Linked DNA regions of Homo sapiens: all the other regions are linked to region 1. The links are contacts of gene promoters, found by promoter capture Hi-C in human tissues and cell types (Jung and others, 2019). All regions are on one chromosome and are shown on one strand. The core of a region is centred on a gene start or on the middle of the fragment in contact, and the rest is flanking DNA. Distances in the headings are between cores, read along the strand shown.

Evidence for each region. Contacts are between HindIII fragments. The study calls those that stand out against the background at their distance.
Region 2: a contact is called between the fragment with the promoter of TIMM50 here and the fragment with the promoter of IFNL3 in region 1, in 1 of the 25 tissues and cell types used here (spleen).
Region 3: a contact is called between a fragment that was not itself captured here and the fragment with the promoter of IFNL3 in region 1, in 2 of the 25 tissues and cell types used here (liver and mesendoderm cells).

What each region holds. Positions count from the first base shown.
Region 1 is chr19:39,242,978-39,247,441 of GRCh38, forward strand. IFNL3 (interferon lambda 3) reads right to left here and starts at 2,029. Exons shown (of 5, transcript NM_172139.4): 1 at 1,811-2,029; 2 at 1,440-1,517; 3 at 1,031-1,180; 4 at 847-930; 5 at 576-753. The coding sequence starts at 1,990. The coding sequence ends at 655. It also overlaps the pseudogene IFNL4. The HindIII fragment of the contact is 34,684 bases long and covers 1-4,464 here.
Region 2 is chr19:39,478,926-39,483,389 of GRCh38, forward strand. It overlaps TIMM50 (translocase of inner mitochondrial membrane 50), which reads left to right and starts at 1,913. Exons shown (of 11, transcript NM_001001563.5): 1 at 1,913-2,036; 2 at 2,958-3,108; 3 at 3,960-3,991; 4 at 4,210-4,231. The coding sequence starts at 1,929. LOC124904718 (a long non-coding RNA gene) reads left to right here and starts at 4,239. Exons shown (of 2, transcript XR_007067257.1): 1 at 4,239-4,464. RefSeq lists enhancers at 1,601-2,195, 2,316-2,365. The HindIII fragment of the contact is 21,512 bases long and covers 1-4,464 here.
Region 3 is chr19:39,058,180-39,062,643 of GRCh38, forward strand. No RefSeq gene overlaps it. Among named protein-coding and RNA genes, the nearest start is that of ACP7, 24 kb to the right of the region's middle. RefSeq lists an enhancer at 326-827. The HindIII fragment of the contact is 6,146 bases long and covers 1-4,464 here.

The DNA.
Region 1 (4,464 bases), core at 779-3,278:
CCACACCCAGCCAATTCTCTAATTTTTTATAGAGACAGGATCTTGCTATGTTGCCCAGGCTGGTCTGGGCTCAAGTGATCCTCCCAACTCAGCCACCCAAAGTGCTGTGATTACAGGCTTGAGCAATCACATCCAGGCTCTAAATTAATTTTAAAGATGCTTCATTTCACCCAATACATCCAAAGTGCTATCATTTCAACATCTAATGAATATATAAATTATAATTAAGCTGTTTTACTTTTTTTTTTTTCTCCACAGTAAATCTTCAAATTCTGGGGTATGTTTTACACTCACTGAAAAAATGAGGTTGCACCACCTACATTCCAGGTGCTCGATAGTGACATGTGACCTGGGGACCCCAGTGGACAGCACAGACTCAATGAACCTGCTGTTCTAGATGCTACTTTTAGGGTAATTTGTTATGGCAGCAATGCAAAGGAAATACACACCAACGCACACACAGTCCCACGTCATGGGTGTCTTTTCCTCATTGTTTATTTCAACAAGGATTTCAAAAAGTAGAAAAATAAACATTTTCCTGGAGGTGAGTTGGATTTACATACACAAATACATAAATAGCGACTGGGTGACAATAAATTAAGCCAAGTGGCTAATTTATAAATAAAATCTCAGGTTGCATGACTGGCGGAAGGGTCAGACACACAGGTCCCCGCTGGCAACACAATTCAGGTCTCGCGTGAGGAGGCGGAAGAGGTTGAAGGTGACAGAGGCCTCGAGGCAGCCAGGGGACTCCTGTAGGGAGGAGGGGATGGGTCAGGGGCTGTCTGGGTTCTGGGCTCCCAGTGGCTCCCCAGACCTCAGTCCCTCTCTTCCCGGGTCACTCACCTTTTTTGGGGCCTCCTGGAGCCGGTGCAGCCAATGGTGGAGGCGGCCCCGGGTCCTGGGCCCTGCCGTGGGCTGAGGCTGGATCTGTGGGCAGAGGAGGGCGGTGTGTGAGCCGGGGCCTTGGCCAGGGGAAGGACGCTGCTCAGAGCTCACAGACCTGGGTGCCCGGGCCCTGACGACTCACACAGGCCCGGAGCTGGGAGAGGATATGGTGCAGGGTGTGAAGGGGCTGGTCCAAGACATCCCCCAGGGCTGGGTCAGTGTCAGCGGTGGCCTCCAGAACCTTCAGCGTCAGGGCCAGCTCAGCCTCCAAAGCCACGGGGCGCTCCCTCACCTGAGGAGAGGTGAGAAAGAGCAGGTGAGGGGGGAGGTGAGGGGAACAGGTTGGGGGAGGAGGATAGAGAGGAACAAGTGAAGGTGACAGGCACAGGGGAGAGGGCACAGCCAGTGTGGTCAGGTAGGAGCAGAGGGAAGGGGTAGCAGGTGTGGGGAGAGGAGAGAGGGACAATGGAGAAGGAGAAGGTGAAGGGGCCACTACAGAGCCAGGTGAGCAGGGCTGGGAGGGCAGGGGTGGGCCTGACTCCCCCTCTCACCTGCAGCTGCCTCAGGTCCCAGGTCCTGGGGAAGAGGCGGGAGCGGCACTTGCAGTCCTTCAGCAGAAGCGACTCTTCCTAGACAGCAAAGGCACAGGTTAGCCCCAGCAGGAGGGGTGGAGGTTAGACCACTCTGATGGGATTGGAGGATGGCTGACAACAGGATAGGGGAGGTTAACTGCTGGGAGGATGGTAGAGGACCCTCTTCTTCAGGAAAACATGAGTCAGTCCCTGCAGTAGGAGCATGAGATAGCCCACTGCAGGGAGGGTGGAGGCTAGCCCAGTGAAGGAAGCTGGGAGTGGGAAAGCATGGTGACCCTTGGAGTGCGGGTGGAGGCTAGTCCATGGCAGGAGGGCAGGGGGAGACTCACTAAGGCATCTTTGGCCCTCTTAAAGGCCTGCAGCTCCTGTGGAGACAGGGACTTGAACTGGGCTATGTGGCAGCCCCTTGCATCCGGGAGAGCCCCGCGGAGCCTGGCGACAGGAACTGCTCCAGTCACGGTCAGCACTGCGGCCATCAGCACCAGCACTGGCATGCAGTCCCCGGTCATGTCTGTGTCACAGAGAGAAAGGGAGCTGAGGGAATGCAGAGGCTGCCCACTGAGGGCAGGGGCTGCAGGAGCTGAGCACGGACAGAGATGTGGGACTCACCTAGTTTCATTCCTGATCTCTGGTCTTTGTCAGCAGAAGAAACACTCTGAGGCTGTCACCCAGGGTCTGTTTGGGTCTTGTCTGGAGTCTCTGTTCTTTTCAGTCCCCTCTTCTGGATCTCAGACTGTGTCCTGGCTTTGACTCTTTCTGTCAGTTTTGAGCTCTGTCTGGGATGTAATTCCTGCCTGAGCTCCATGGGGCAGCTTTTATCCCTGACAGAAGGGCAGTCCCAGCTGATGTAGGAAAAGTGAAAACACAGCCTCAGGTAAGACACCGGCCACCAGGGGAGCCCCAGGCTGGGAAAGCCCAGAGCAGGGCAGGGCTAGTGAGCCAGATGAGCAGCTGGAGGGAAAGAGAAACTGATGGAGACTCAGGGGTAACCTACAGGAAGGTATGTTCCCAAGAGGATTCCACCTGCTCTGGTTTTGTTGTTGTTTAAGACAGGGTCTCACTCTGTCACTGCAGTGCAATGGCATGATCACAGCTCACTGCAGCCTCAAACTCCTGGGCTCAAGCCATCCTCCTCACCCAGCCTATTAAAGTGCTGAGATTACAGGCCTGAGCCACCACTCCTGGCATATATATATATATATATATATATATATTTTGAGACAGGGTCTTGTTCGGTCACCCAGGCTGGAGTGCAGTGCAAAATCTTGGCTAACTGCAACCTCCGCCTCCTGGGTTCAAGCAATTCTCTTGCCTTAGCCTCCCAAGTAGCTGAGATTACAGATTTGTGCCACCATTCCCAGCTAATTTTTATATTTTTAGTAGAGATGGCGTTTCACCATGTTGGCAAGGCTGGTCTCAAATTCCTGATGTCAAGTCATCTCTCTGTCTAGGCCTCCCAAATTGCTGGGATTTCAGTGTGAGCCACCATGCCCAGAGGCCAATATTTCTTAATTGCCCAGGCAAGGAAGGACTCAGGAATATGAGGCTCTGCTCAAGAATTGAGGTGTGACGAAGGACTTGAAGGACACCACGTGGGTGCCGTCTTTCTTAGGGAAGTTCAGGCAGTGGTGAAGAGCATGGGTCTTGGAGATGAAGGGTCTGGGGTTCAAACCTGGTTCTGACCCTCACTAGCCGTGTGACCTTGGCAAGGAGGGGTGCATTCAGCAACGCAGATTGCTAATGCACAGATTTGGAGAAAAAATTAATAACACAATTGTTTGTGTATTTATGTGAGTGATTATTTAATAGAATCCACTCATTAAGACCATACTAGGACCTCAGCTGGAGAGTTTAAAACGTGATCTCAACGGACACTACTCCTCCACAAGGCAAGTATGCTAACCCATCCTATAGGTGAGGAAACAGAGGCTCAGAAAAGTAATTTGCCCTGAATTCCACTGTAATTAACTGGCAGGGTCAGAACTGAAACTCAGGCCACCTGAGTCCCTGGCTCGGCCTCTTTTTTTGCTGTAAGGTGCACCTCACAATCATCATACGGAAAACAACCAATGCGATCAAAACACTCTTTGATAACTGGCAATAAATTTAAACCGGGAGACAGAATAGCAAATGCACAGGAACTTCACAAATACAAACACACGTAAGGGAATCCAAAGAACCACAGTCGGTTAAGGACCCTTGGGCCTTTCACTACCAAATCCCTCATGGATTGGTGTCCCTTAGATGCCGGATCCAAGAGTCACGGATTCACAGAATCTCAAAGCTGGCTGTGGGGCTACAAATCCGGGGTTAGGACCTGGTGTTGGGGGTGTCCTGGTAACCACACAAGGAGGAACTGGTCCCTGTTGCCTGGGGTCAGCCACGGTTTCCAGAGCTCAAGTTTTTTCCTGCCACAGCAACCGTTGGAGGGTCGTACAATGCACCCCGAGGAAATATCGTGGCTTCCTGGAGAACTGTGGTCTCTTCCCTGTAGAAGGACCCGCTCCTCTTATATCTGAGACAGTGGATCCAAGTCAGGCCCAAGGCTGCGAAGAAGTTTTCGTGCCTCAGCACCCATTGACTGAGAGCCTCGCCCGGCCAGCCCAATGGACGACAGGAGCTGCTTTCGGCAGCCAATGGCGTGGAGGTTTCCGTGCTGCCAGAGGGGGCGGGGTCAGAGGCAAGGCCCAGAGTGTGCAGCCAGCCGGAGCTCCCACGTGAGCAGGCGCAGGAGGTTGAAGACCACGCTGGCTTTGCGGCACCGAGGCGAGTCCTGGAGCCAGGGAGGGAGGGCAGCGGGGCTAAGCCAGGCTCTTCCCCCCGCCCCCGGAATCCCCCTCCAGTCCCGCTGCTCGCAGCCTCAGTCCCGTCCTTGTCAGCCTCGCCTGGTCCTCCCTGCGGGCTAACCCTGTATTGCCTGTTGCACTCACCGCTCTCCGGGGTTTGTGACGCCTCTTCTGGGCCCCGGGGACCTTCCTGGAGG
Region 2 (4,464 bases), core at 663-3,162, 240 kb after region 1:
AGGAAGAGTTTTATTATTAATTTTTATTTTATTTTTTTTGAGACGGAGTCTCCCTCTGTCGCCCAGGCTGGAGTGCAGTGGCACAATCTAGGCTCACTGCAACCTCTGCCTCCTGGGTTCAAGCGATTCTTCTGCTCAGCCTCCCCAGTAGGTGGGACTACAGGCGCGTGCCATCATGCCTGGCTAATTTTTTTTTTTTTTTGTTATTTTTAGTAGAGACGTGGTTTCCCCATGTTGGCCAGGCTGGTCTCAAAACTCCTGACCTCAGGTGATCCGCCTGCCTCAGCCTCCCAAAGTGCTGGGATTACAGGCATGAGCCACTGCGCCCGGCCTATTATTATTAATTTTAAAAATAGAGATTGCAGTCTTGCTATGTTACCCAGTGTGGTCTCAAACTCCTGGCCTCAAGCGATCCTCCTGCCTCGGCCTCCCGAAGCACTGGGATTATAGGTGTCAGTCACAGCGCCTGGCCAGAAGAGTTTTCGAGGGCTGGCTTTTCAGGTCGTTTTCTGGGCCTCAATGTCTATTTCTGACAATGTGGGGAAAAGAAAGATCAGATTGTTACTGTGTCTGTGTAGAAAGAAGTAGACATAGGAGACTCCATTTTGTTCTGTACTAAGAAAAATTCTTCTGCCTTGAGATGCTGTTAATCTATAACCATACCCTGTTATAGATGACGGGGTTCTCTATAACCAACCCCGTGCTCTCTGAAACATGTGCTGTGTCAACTCAGGGTTAAATGGATTAAGGGCTGTGCAGGACGTGCTTTGTTAAACAGATGCTTGAAGGCAGCATGCTCCTTAAGAGTCATCACCACTCCCTAATCTCAAGTACCCAGTGACACAAACACTGCGGAAGACCGCAGGGACCTCTGCCTAGGAAAGCCAGGTATTGTCCAAGGTTTCTCCCCATGTGATAGTCTGAAATATGGCCTCATGGGAAGGGAAAGATCTGACCGTCCCCCAGCCCGACACCCGTAAAGGGTCTGTGCTGAGGAGGATTAGTAAAACAGGAAGGAACGCCTCTTCGCAGTTGAGACAAGAGGAAGGCATCTGTCTCCTGCCCGTCCCTGGGCAAGTCTTGGTATAAAACCCGATTGTATGTTCCATCTACTGAGATAGGGGAAAACTGCCTTAGGGCTGGAGGTGGAACATGCGGGCAACAATACTGCTCTGTAAGGCACTGAGATGTTTATATGTATGCATATCTAAAGTACAGCATTTAATTCTTTACCTTGTCTATGAACCGTTGTTCACGTGTTTATCTGCTGACCCTCTCTCCACTATTATCCTATGACCCTGACGCATCCCCCTCTCCAAGAAACACCCAAGAATGATCAGTAAATACTAAGGGAACTCAGAGGCTGGAGGGATCCTCCGTATGCTGAACGCTGGTCCCCTGGGCCCCCTTTATTTCTTTCTCTATACTTTGTTTCTGTGTCTTTTTCTCTTCCAAAGTCTCTCGTTCCACCTAACGAGAAACACCCACAGGTGTGGAGGGGCAACCCATCCCTTCAGACAATTGGGAGGTGAGGGCCGATTGCCTTACACGGTGAGACAAGCGGCCTGACTCGTGACTATTTTTTTGGACAAATCAGGCAGCCACTGACTCCCTTCATTATGGCCTCAGCTTTATCTCTGGGCAATAAGTGTGATCCCTTCCTTCGCTGCGTCCTTTGCAGGGGCGGTGGCGCTCTGCAAGGCCCAAGGGGGCGTGGTCCAGATGACTTTGAATCCCAGTTGTCGCCCCCAGGGTCAGCCAGGAGACTAGTCAGAAGCAAACGCGCCTGCGGCAATCCGCCCGATGCCTTTGGTCTCTCTCGGGCTTCCGTCCACCCGCCCCTCCCCCGCGTTTCCATTGGCTGTAGCTCCGGCCCGGGGCGGGCGAAGAGGGAGCGAGTGGGCGGGGCCGCGTGGCGTCAGCGCAAGATGGCGGCCTCGGCAGCGGTGTTCTCGCGCTTGCGAAGCGGGCTCCGGCTCGGCTCGCGGGGACTGTGCACGAGGTTGGCGACGCCGCCCCGCCGGGCCCCAGATCAGGTGAGCGGAACGAGGGTGGCCCTCTGAATGTGGGGTCCCTTCCCTGGAGTTACGGACATATCGCCGCCCCTTGGGGGTTCCGGGACGCCTCACCTCAGGGTGCTGAATGAAACGCCGCTTGTGTTTTGGGGCCCTTCCCAACCTCCTGGGTGGTTGCTCCCCTAGGCTGGAGGCTGGGAATCCAGGTGTGTCCTTAGACCCCACCTCCCACCCACGTGGGTGCCGGAGGAGGAGGGGGTTACCGTTCCCCGTTTCAGTGACCACTCAGGTGATACTTGAGCAGGAGGGGCCTGGGACGCTGGAGTCCCAGTCTGGCCGTGGGAGTTATTTTCTCTGTGGCGTTGGTGGTGGCGAGGTAGACGTTTGGGTTTCCAATTCGACTTGCCTCCATGTTGACAGAGACCCAGCCATTCTGACCTCCAAGTCTATCACTTCTGTGCCTTAGTTCCCCAAGCCCCAGACAAGTGATTGCCCTTCCCCGCCTCCGCTCCTATCCCTTACCCTATAACTCTGCTACTTTTAGCCCCAAGCAGCCGGACGTCGTAACTCCCGGTTCTGTCTGTACCCCTTCCCCCACCACTTGTGCCCTCCGTTCCCTCTCATCCCAGTGTTTAGGCCCTCCCATCCCTTATTCTCCGTGCTTTGCTTTTCTGGGCTGCAGACCCTCCAGTCCTGTTGCCTTCAGGATCCTGTGCACCTGGCCTGTTAGCTTTTAAAACTCCTGGCATCCTGGTGCGGGACAGTCTGGTTTTGACCCTCTGAGCAGCCCCACATCCTGACTGCTACTCCAGGGACACAGATGTCCAGGGCTCTGTGGGTGTCTGCCTCTTGGCTCCTGAACTTGATTCTTCTTGGACTGGAGGGTGGGGACCATCCTGACCTCTCTTCTCTCTTGGCTGACCTCCCCTTTCTCAACCGCAGGCCGCAGAGATCGGGAGCCGCGGGAGCACTAAGGCGCAAGGGCCACAGCAGCAGCCGGGCTCAGAGGGTCCCAGCTATGCCAAAAAAGTTGCGCTCTGGCTTGCTGGGCTGCTTGGAGCTGGTGGGACTGTGAGCGTCGTCTATATCTTTGGTGAGGGACATATCCCTGTCCCCCAGTTTTGTTCCTTGGCCTCCCTGGTCCACTGTGGAACCTCCCACTCTTGCCCACTACCAGCTTCTCTCGTCTTCATTCCCTGGCTCCTTCCTCAATAGGGCAGCCAAATAAGACACCTACCTTGAAAACCAGGGAAGTCTTCTTTCTTCTCCCTTCCACTCCTTAAGGTTCTAGTCTTTCTAGTTGGTTCCTGTACCAGGATAAAGGAAAGAGGGGAAGATGGGGAAGGATAGGCCTGGATCAGCTTCCTAAACTTTGTCTTTCCTCAGCAGCCAAAAATCCAGCCTTCCCACTAGTTACTTTAAATCCCACAGACCCGGCCGGGCACGGTGGCTCACGCCTGTAATCCCAGCACTTTGGGAGGCCGAGGCGGGCGGATCACGAGGTCAGGAGACGGAGACCATCCTGGCTAACACGGTGAAACCCCATCTCTACTAAAAATACAAAAAAAAATTAGCCCGGTGTGGTGGCGGGCGCCTGTAGTCTCAGCTACTCGGGAGGCTGAGGCAGGAGAATGGCGTGAACCCGGGAGGCGGAGCTTGCAGTGAGCCGAGATCGTGCCACTGCACTCCAGCCTGGGCAACAGAGCGAGACTCTGTCTCAAAAAAAAAAAAAAAAATCCCACAGACCCAAAAGACCTAGCCCCAGCCCCATTTCTCTCAAAGACCCAGGAATCTTGGCTCCCAGCCCCCTCCTGGCTTGACTCCAGGAGGCTGTGCCTCTCTCTTTCCTCAGATCCAGGAGTCCAGGCCCCTTATCCCACTCCTCCCTCGGGACCCAGGGGACTGGGCCCTAATTCCTCATATTCATCCTGGTCTCCCTTGCAGGAAACAACCCGGTGGACGAAAATGGTGCCAAGGTGAGGGGGAAAGAGACCGAGGCCTTGCCAGGAGTCCTAGTCTGTGGGTGAGAGGGGTCCCCTTTGGTCTGTTCAGGCACATTGCTGGTCTGGAGTGAGCCTTTCTTTCCCAGTGACCTTTGCCTGTTCCTCTTGGGGTCCTGGAGATTCCTTTTCTGTATGTGATGGGGTTCTGCCTCTGACATCCTAAACCTTCCATTTTTCTCTCTACCTCCCAGATTCCTGATGAGTTCGACAATGGTGAGTAAACAAGCACAGATTCTGGAGTCCCTGACCCTCTCAACTCTGTCATTTGTAAGGATGTCTCTCTCCCCATCTGGTGTCTCCGGCCCCTCCTCCTTCCACTGGGGAGGTGGGGGAGCCAGCAGCTGGATGGCTTTGTGGGGAGGGACATTACAAAGCCCAAGCCCACTTCCCTGGCCCCTCAGCCCCGAGCAGATGGTCAGAGACAGATGGGGGATTGGAGCCTTGGG
Region 3 (4,464 bases), core at 911-3,410, 180 kb before region 1:
AAGTGGAGGAAGAACAGCTGCAGTTTGTCTCTGTCCCTCATGCCTTCCCTGGGGGTGACGGTGGGGGAGGACCCATGGTTTAGTGGAACTTATTCTTGTGCCTATAAACCAGCTAGAGAGGAGCCGCCATTATTTATGTATTTATTTAGAGATGGAGTCTTGCTCTGTCACCCAGGCTGGAGTGCAGTGGCGAGATCTTGGCTCACTGCAACCTCTGCCTTCTGGGCTTAAGCGATTCTCCTTCTTCAGCCTCCCTCCCAAGTAGCTGGGATTACAGGCGTGCGCCAACATGACTTGCTAATTTTTTTTTTTTTTGTATTTTTATTTTTATTTTTTTTTGTTTTTTATTATTATTTTTTTTTAATTTATTTTTTTATTGATAATTCTTGGGTGTTTCTCACAGAGGGGGATTTGGCAGGGTCATGGGACAATAGTGGAGGGAAGGTCAGCAGATAAACAAGTGAACAAAGGTCTCTGGTTTTCCTAGGCAGAGGACCCTGCGGCCTTCCGCAGTGTTTGTGTCCCTGATTACTTGAGATTAGGGATTGGTGATGACTCTTAACGAGCATGCTGCCTTCAAGCATCTGTTTAACAAAGCACATCTTGCACCGCCCTTAATCCATTTAACCCTGAGTGGACACAGCACATGTTTTTGTATTTTTAGTAGAGACGTGGTTTCACCATGTTGGCCAGGCTGGTCTTGAACTCCTGGCCTCAGGTGATCGGCCCATCGTGGCCTCCCAAAGTGTTGGGATTACAGGCATGAGCCACTGCACCTGGCCAAGGAGCCTCCATTTTAGATGGTAAGTTCAATTTGGGGGTGTTGGGAAGCCCGCTGCGGCCACCCAGCTAAGCCTTTACCAACAGGCTGATATATATTTTTTTAATTTTTAATTTTTGTAGGTGTACTTATTTATGGGGTAAATGAAATGTTTTGATACAAGCATGGAATGTATAATAATCACATCCTGGAGAATGGGGCATCCATCCCCTCAAGCATTTATCCTTTGTGTTACAAACAATCCAATTATACTCTTTCAGTTATCTTTAAATAGGCGAGTTATTATTGACTATAGGCGCCCTGTTGTGTGATCAAATAGTAGGTCTTATTCATTATTTCTATTTTTTTATACCCACTAACCATCCTCTCCTCCCCCCAACCTCCACTATCCTTCCCAGCCTCTCTATGTCCATGAGTTCAATTGTTTTGATTTTTAACTCCCACAAATAAGTGAGAACATGTGATGTTTGTCTTTCTGAACCTGGTTTATTTCACTTAACATAATGGTCTCCAGTTCCATTCATGTTGTTACAAATGACTAGATCTCATTCTTTTTTATGGCTAAATAGTACTCCACTGTGCATATGTACATTTTCCTTATCCATTCATCTGCTGATGGACACTTAGGTTGCTTCCAAATTTTGGCTACTGTGAGCAGTGCTGCAATACACATGTCAGTGTAGATATTTCCTTAACAGATACACTGATTTCCATTCTATGGGGTATATACCCAGCAGTGGGATTGCTGGATCATATGGTAGCTCAAATTTTTAGGTGTTTTGTTTTTTTTTTTTTTTTTGAGACAGAGTCTAGCTCTGTCCCTCAGGCTCAAGTGCAGTGGTGTGATCTTGCTCACTGCAACCTCTGCCTCCCAGGTTCAACTGATTCTTCTGCCTCAGCCTCCTGAGTAGCTGGGATGACAGGCATGCACCATGACGCCTGGCTAATTTTTGTATTTTTAGTAGAGACGGGGTTTCACCACATTGGCCAGGCTGGTCTTGAACTCCTGACCTCAAGGGATCCACCTGCTTTGGCCTCCCAAAGTGTTGGGATTACAGGTGTGCGCCACTGCGCCCAGCCTCAATTTTTAGTTTTTTGAGGAACCTCCAAACTGTTCTCCACGGTGGTTGTACTAATTTACATTCCCACCAACAATGTACGAGGGTTCCCTTTTCTTCACATCATTGCCAGCATTTGTTATTGCCTGTCTTTTGGATATAAGGCACTTTAATTGGGGTGAGATGATATATCTCACTGTAGTTTTGATTTGCATCTCTCTAATGATCAGCGATGTTGAGCCCCTTTTCATATGCCAATAGGCGGATATTTCTAGCTGTCTGTGTGATTCCTGGGTCTACTTCTCCAAAATCAGACTGGAAGCAGAGAGGCAGTGTGGAGAGCAGATAAGAGTCAGGGCTCTGCTGCCAGACTGCCCGAGTTCAAATCCTGGCTCCACCTCTGGCTCACTGGGGGGACTTTGAGCATGCCACTCAGTCTTTCTGACCTCAGTTTCCCCCTGTATAAAATGGGGATGATAATGCTACCTATCTCATAGGGTTGTGGAGAGGACCAAATGAGCTAGTATGGGGTATTTCATGGATCCACGGAATTGGGATGGGTGTTAAAATAGATGATCTGTTGTGGTTTAATCAACAGTGGTCTTTTTTGCTTCCTTTTTTTTTTTTTTTTTTGAGATGGAGTCTCACTCTTGTTGCCCAGGCTGCAGTACAGTGGCGCAATCTTGGCTCACTGCAGCCTCTGCCTCCTGGGTTCAAGCAATTTTCCTGCCTCAGCCTCCTGAGTAGCTGGGATTACAGGCATGTGCCACCACGCCCGGCTAATTTTGTATTTTTAGTAAAGATGGGGTTTCTCCATGTTGGTCAGGCTGGTCTCGAACTCCTGACCTCAGGTGATCCACCTGCCTCCGCCTCTCAAAGTGTTGGGATTACAGGCGTGAGCCACTGCGCCTGGCCTTTTTTATTTTTATTTTTATTTTTTTTTTAGATAGAGTCTTCCTCTGTCGCCCAGGCTAGAGTGCAGTGGCACGATCTCGGCTCACTGCAACCTCCGCCTTCCGGGTTCAAGTAATCCTCCCGCCTCAGTCTCCTGAGTAGCTGAGATTACAGGTGTCTGCCACCATGCCCAGCTAATTTTTGTCTTTTTAGTAGAGACAGGGTTTCACCATGTTGGTCAGGGTGGTCTCAAACTCCTGGCCTCAGGTGATCCACCTGCCTCGGCCTCCCAAAGTGTTGGGATTGCAGGTGTGAGCCACTGCACCTGGCTGCTTTATTTTTTTCTTTCTAAGATGGCTCTTATGCACAGAGCACCTTAGAGTTGGTGTAATAGGGCACATGGGAAGGCTAAGAGCAGTGCTTGTAGCACAGAAAGTAGCATGTGACTGTTGATCAGTATCATTACTGTTAATTCCCCTCAAACACCCCACAGCTCCCTCCGCTCTCTTGAGGGAGTCCCGCAGAAAGACAGCTTCTCTCTCTCTCTCATTCTGTCTTTCTCTCTCCCTTGCCTCTGCTGAACTCAAACAAGAAAGCGTGTTGCAGTGGTGTTGGCAGCCTTTCACTTACAACCTTATCTTCAGGATGAAGATAAAACTAGATAGAGATTGCAGAGCAGAGAAACGGGAACCCAGGATGCCAATGACATCAGTGAGCATCTGGACAGACTACACATCTTCTGTGGGTTTCCTGTTACTTGCAGCCCAAAGCATTCATATGTGGAGTGTGTGTGTGTGTGTGTGTGTGTGTGTGTGTGTGTGTGTGTGAAATGTTCTCCTGAAAGCACTGGGGGGTTTCTGAGACTTCTGAACATGGGCTATCTTTACTAGTGTTTTTTCAGGCCTGTCTCCCACTCCTGAGCCCCCTAAGCCAGTATTCTCTCCAACAAGGCCTCTTTCCCTACCCCATGCTACAGATCTCTGGGAAGCTGAGCCCAGTGGTCTGATTGACAGGTGACTCCAAGATGTTGCTTGTTCAAAGATGCTGAGATCTCTCTGGAAATTGTCACTAATTTCCACTTAGGACAGCATTTCCCAAAGAGTGGAATATGCTAGTGAGATTTGACACATTTAGGTGGTACACAAAACATTTGTTATGTGAATAGCTCTGTGTTTTCTTTTTTTCTTTTTTAGAGATAGGGTCTCACACTGTCACCCAAGCTTGAGTGCAGTGGTGCAATCTTGGCTCACTGTAGCCTCGGCCTCCTGGGCTCAAGTGATCCTCCCACCTCAGCCTCCCAAGTAGCTTGGACTACAGGCACACGCCACAGTGCCCAGCTAATTAAAAAACATTTTTTTTTTTTGTAGTGATGGGGTCTTGCTATGTTACCCAGGCTGGTCTTGAACTCCTGGCTTCCATCAATCCTCCTGCCTTGGCCTTCCAACATGCTGGAATTACAGGCATGAGCCACTACACCCAGCCCAGCTCTGGGTGTACAGGCGCCTGGGTGTTTTTTTTTTTTTTTTTTTTTTTTGAGACAGAGTTTCACTCTTGTTGCCCAGGCTGGAGAGCAATAGCTCGATCTCAGCTCACTGCAACCTCTGCCTCTGGGTTCAAGAGATTCTCCTGCCTCAGCCTCCTGAATAGCTGGGATTACAGGCGCCCGCCACCATGCCGGCTAATTTTTTGTATTTTTAGTAGAGATGGGCTTTCACCATGTTGGCCAGGCTG